Regions from separate parts of the Homo sapiens genome. Here region 2 is linked to region 1. The links are contacts of gene promoters, found by promoter capture Hi-C in human tissues and cell types (Jung and others, 2019). All regions are on one chromosome and are shown on one strand. The core of a region is centred on a gene start or on the middle of the fragment in contact, and the rest is flanking DNA. Distances in the headings are between cores, read along the strand shown.

Evidence for each region. Contacts are between HindIII fragments. The study calls those that stand out against the background at their distance.
Region 2: a contact is called between a fragment that was not itself captured here and the fragment with the promoter of PSMA5 in region 1, in 4 of the 25 tissues and cell types used here (dorsolateral prefrontal cortex, hippocampus, lymphoblastoid cells and 1 more).

What each region holds. Positions count from the first base shown.
Region 1 is chr1:109,425,095-109,427,777 of GRCh38, forward strand. PSMA5 (proteasome 20S subunit alpha 5) reads right to left here and starts at 1,354. Exons shown (of 9, transcript NM_002790.4): 1 at 1,208-1,354. The coding sequence starts at 1,236. RefSeq lists enhancers at 1,417-2,348, 1,855-1,914. The HindIII fragment of the contact is 7,725 bases long and covers 1-2,683 here.
Region 2 is chr1:109,648,455-109,651,137 of GRCh38, forward strand. No RefSeq gene overlaps it. Among named protein-coding and RNA genes, the nearest start is that of GSTM4, 6.3 kb to the right of the region's middle. The HindIII fragment of the contact is 6,271 bases long and covers 1-2,683 here.

The DNA of each region.
Region 1 (2,683 bases), core at 104-2,603:
GAGCAAGGAGCTTGATTTTGTCCATTGCTGTAGCACCAGCACCTAGAACAGTGCCTTGTTCACAGCAAGCACTCAAGCACATTAACTAAGAGAATAAAAAGGGATGTATTTTAGGCCGTCTTGGGAAGACAGAAAAATAAGTAACAAAGCAGTCAATACATATGTTAAGTAAATGGCCACAAAATTTAATAAATGCCTTCTGATAAGCATAACAATTTCTATCATACACACCCTAACTCAAAATTATGTCACCCGAAGATGATTCTCTTCAATGTTCTGGAAGTTAAATATCGACCAACAAAGTCACTTTATAGGACAGTGGGGAAATATGTCAAAACTTCACACACATCTTCTACGAGTCAGTAAAAAAGATGAAAAAGTGGTAACTGCAGGTGGTAAAACTTCGACAGGATCAGCATATACTTGACAGGAAATGCAGCATCTCATACCACTCAGTACAAAGAAAATGTCTGCCTTCCCTGACTTTAAAAAAGAGTAGCTATGTAAAAACTTAACTGACGAAAACAGAAACTGAAAGTAAAAATGTCTACAGCATATATATGTACAACTTAATATTGTGAACATTTTCATACCACAAAAGTTTTTTAAAACTTGCTTTAAACTTTTAAAAAGTCAGAAAAAATTTTGGTCAATTGGAATCGGCATGATGAGAAATCTCTTGAAAACCATTCTAAATTCCAGTTCCTATAAAATCAGACTCCAGACAATATATCCAGCCAAAGCTACGACTGCCTTCGCGCTTCTGAAGAAACTATACACCGCAGCATGCCCTACTACAAACCAGTTGCTTTTTCTTCCAGGAAGCACGTTTAACTTTTTGTTTGTTTGTTCAAGGCAGTCATACTAGGCACGAAAAGATGAACGGAGCAAAGAGTGACCCTTGGCCTTCTCCGGGTTCAAGGTAGGAGTTCCGGCTCCTCACGCCTTCTTTACCAAGCACCAGCCGGAGCTTCTCGCTTCCGCACCGAGTTAGGACCCAGGGGTGACTCAGCGGTAGGACAAGTGCCGCCGATGTGGTCTAGCTTGGGGAAGGACGGCGGGCGCCTGAGGAGGGCATAACATCCCCAGGTCCGGCCAGTCTCGGGTTCCTGGGGAGCCCCATGACACGGCAGAACCCAGGCCGCGCGGCCAGGTCCCGGGCCTGCCCACCCATAATTCCCACCCGACGTCCCCCAGCTGCACGGACCTGTCGTACTCAGACCGGGTAAGAAACATGGCGAGGGTAGGAGGAGGCAGCGGCTACGCGGGGATTCTGAGGACCAACACGACTCCACCGGCACCCAACTCACCGGCAGCCAACTCACCCACACGGCCGCAGTACTAAGGACCAACTGCGCGTGCGACCGCGACCTCTTTAGCCCGCCCTCCTGTGCCTGCTTCCTATTGGCTGGTAGTAGTTCCCGCCTAGGTGATTGGGCCAACGCGCTTCCTCACGAGGGCTTGGTTGGTCCGGAGGAGGAGGAGGACCAGGGAGGTACTTCCGCCTTAAATCGCGGGTGGTTGCTAGGGACGATAGGCACCCAAGGCGTGTAGTGAGTTCGCCTTGTAGAGAAGATGTGAGCCCGCCCCAAGACTGGCAATTGGAAAGGCTTGCATGCAGAGCTGGGTTGTCTGAACCCTGACATAATAGGTCCCTCGCCGGCTCCCGTAATCCCAGCTAGAGGACTTTGGTCCCGTTTCCGGCAAGGCCACCACCTGACTTCTCTTCGCAGGATTCCCTCTCTTAGGGTTCCTCCACGGTGTTCTCCATGCCCGGTCGAGGGCTCCAGGACTTTGGGCGGTAATGAGTCGGCTACAGTGGGTCTGAGCCGGCGCCGCGGACGAGTCCCTTCGTTTCAGCCAGTTTGGCTCGTTTATTGAGAAAAGTGGGGGGCGAGGGGTTAGTATGTAAGAAAGTCTTAAAGTTTCCACATGGTTAAGGTAATTTTATCAACTCTTTCTTGCACCCCTCCCCCTAGTACAGGTTTCAGACCTAAATAACCTAGAGTTCAGGATCCAGACTTCAAAATATTCACTGCTTTTTCTGTTGTTTGTGAAAAATAAGTGTTTTCTTTGAGCCCAGATCGTGCTATTGCACTCCAGCCTGGGCAACAGCCAAACCCTATCCGAAAAAAAAAAAAAAAAAAAAAGCGCTTTCTTTTTCGACGCTTCTTGCTTCCCTTCAATAAGTTGCTTGAGGAGCAACTTTGCAGCTTCGTAATAACACTGTAATTCAAGTATTTGTTCAAGAAAGGCAAGTAAGAAGTCTTGGCACGGGGGTGGGGAATATAGGGAAATGTTGGTCAAATGATACAAAGTTTCAGTCAGAGAAGGTGGATGAGTTCTATAGTTAATAATCATATATTGTGTACTTGAAATTGTGAAGAGGGTACACCTTAAATGTTCTCACCACAGGAAAGTATGTGAGATGATGGATTATGTTGATTAGCTTCATTTAATTATTTGCAGTGTGTGTGTGTATATATATGTATATCAAAACGTCACGTTGTATACCATAAACATGAACAATTTCTATTTGTCACTTACACCTTAAAGCTGGAGTCGGGGGAAAGAAATCATTTATCAGGCAGTATATGCTGGAAAGGGAAATGCCAGCATCTCATTTCCAGTTGTTAATGTGATACCACTAGTCAAGTCCTTAACCTCTCAAGGCCTGTATCTC
Region 2 (2,683 bases), core at 184-2,683, 220 kb after region 1:
AATGACGGTTTTCAGGGGATCGGGAGAGGAGGAAATTAAAACCAATCCAACTGTCCAGAGACAGTTTTTGTTTTGTTTTGTTTTGTTTTGTTTTGAGACGGAGTCTCGCTCTGTCGCTCACGCTGGAGTGCAGTGGCGCGATCTCGGCTCACTGCAAGCTCCGCCTCCCGGGTTCACGCCATTCTCCTGCCCCAGCCTCCCAAGTAGCTGGGACTACAGGCGCCCGCCACCACGCCCGGCTAATTTTTCGTGCTTTTAGTAGAGACGGGGTTTCACCGTGTTAGCCAGGATGGTCTCGATCTCCTGATCTCGTGATCCGCCCGCCTCGGCCTCCCAAAGTGCTGGGATTACAGGCGTGAGCCACCGCGCCTGGACATAGACAGTTTTTAAAAAATAAACTTAAAGCTTGAAACTCACCAGATCCAGACAATTAAATACCAGGCCTCTCAGAAGGTATCAAAGAACGGAAACTCACCAGATCATCACATCCAGACAATGAGATGCCAGGCCCCTCATTCATCATGATTGCTTCCTTAGCCCTTCAGAATTCCTGTTTTCCCATACATTGTTACATTTTTTTCTCTGCTATATAAACCCCTAATTTTAGCCAGTCAGGGAGATGGATTTGAGACTGATCTCTCATCTCCCCTACTGCAGCACTCTATTAAAGCCTTCTTCCTTGGCAGTAATCATCTCAGCCGTTGGCTATCTGTGCAGCAAACAGCAGGACTCAGACTGAATCCCTGGTGTTTCGGTAACAAAATGGAGAGTTGCTATTCAAGAGGTATAAAGTTTCAGTTATACAAGATAAACATATTCTAGATATCTGCTATACAACACCGTGCTCATAGTTAACAATACTGTGTACCTGTTTACTTAAAAATTTGTTAAGAGAGTATGCGGCAGGAGAATAGGGTCTGGAGGCAGGGAACCTAAGGCTGATTCACACTGAATTTCTAGAGCTAAATCGAAAGGAAAATCCCAACTTTCCATGCCTAAGTAACAAAAGGACCAGAAGCTACTCCCTTTGCAAACCCCCTGCTTTTCTGCTCTGCAGATGGAAAATGGACAGTTCCTCTGATTGGTTGCTTTCTGCAGCCAATCAGATATTTGCATAGAAGTGTAACTTTGTAACTTCACTTCAGCCTCTGATTGTGGACCACTATTCATTTGCATGGGGTGAACACCAAGTGGCCAATGGCAAACTTCTAGGAGGTATTTGGACCCCAAAAGATTCTGAATCCGGGCTCTTGAGCCCCTATGCTTGGCCTGCTCCCACCCTGTGGAGTGTACTTTCATTTTCAATAAATGAAAATTTGTTTGCTCCTTGTTTTGTTTGTGCGTTCTGTCCAGTTCTTTGTTCAAAATGCGAAGAACCTGAACGCCCTCCACTGGTAACAAGCAGATCTCATTTTAAGTGTTTTTATTACAACTTAAAAAAGAAAGCTTTAATTTGTTACCTATTTGTATATTTATATATCTGTGTATGCCTAAATGCATACAAATAAAGGAATATTAATAGAGCCTTTATTATAATCTATTAGAAAATTATGTACCAAAGGAGTAAAATTAGGATTTGGCTCTGTCATGTAAAATGACTCAGTTGTTTTGCACCCAGATTACTAGAGGTTATTTTTTTTCACCAAATTATTCTGTTAACTCTCAGTGTTTTTCACATGCTCTTAAAACATCTTGTTAGAAATTCCCTTGGATAGCCCTGACCTGATTTTATTTGTTCATATTTTAAAATGCTATCACAGACCTAAATTCACCCTTAAAGTAGAGACCACTCCAGAAATTAAATCAGCTCCAATGACTGAAATAATTGCCTGCATCTGGGTCTGCTGGCTGCTAAAGTGTAAAAGAGTAAGCATATACACTAATGGCAGATGCACTTTTGGGGAGTCTGTGAATTGGGAATGCTTTGGAAATGAAGAGTTTTCTAACCTCCACAAAAATCTGCAAAAATTGGATGACGGATTAAAAATAAAACTTTCAGCTGCTTTGCTGTTACCTGAGGAAATAGCTGTAATAAAAGTAGACCACCATTCAATGCACAAAGACCCAGAATTTCTAGTAATACTTTAGCTGGCCACCATGCTAACCCCAGTAGCGTCACCAAGATCAATGCTCCTGCAAATCACACAGAAAAGAGGGGTCTTGGAGGATTCAAAGAGGCCATTTTTAACTGTCAGAGACAAACCCCTGATTCCCAAAAGTAGAAAAGTGAAAAAATCTGGAAGTGGGAAAAGTTTGGATGTTCATGGCAAAAGAGACTATTTGATGCTGTCAGGATAGCTGACACATAATGGCAAATGATTTAAAGGGGAATTTCAGAAAAATGCTTTGCGATATTACTCATAATAGCAGGGACAAATTGGCAACTATACTAAATCAACATTGGTGGGGGTAATTTTAGAGGTATTTCCAAGGATATTTTAAAAACTTGTCCTACTGCCAACAATGCGATCCTAGCAAATGCAAAGGTGGGATATGAACAAGAACTAAGATCTCGAGGGCCCTTCAGACCTCCAATCACTTTATACAAATGCCTCCTGCAATGGACTATAAATATGCTCTGATTATTTTGGTTTTTTTTTTTCTCCTTCAAGATGGATTAAAGCTTTTCCTTGCCGGAGAGTTATGGCTGTTATAACTGTGGCAAAAATTTCTGCTTGATTTT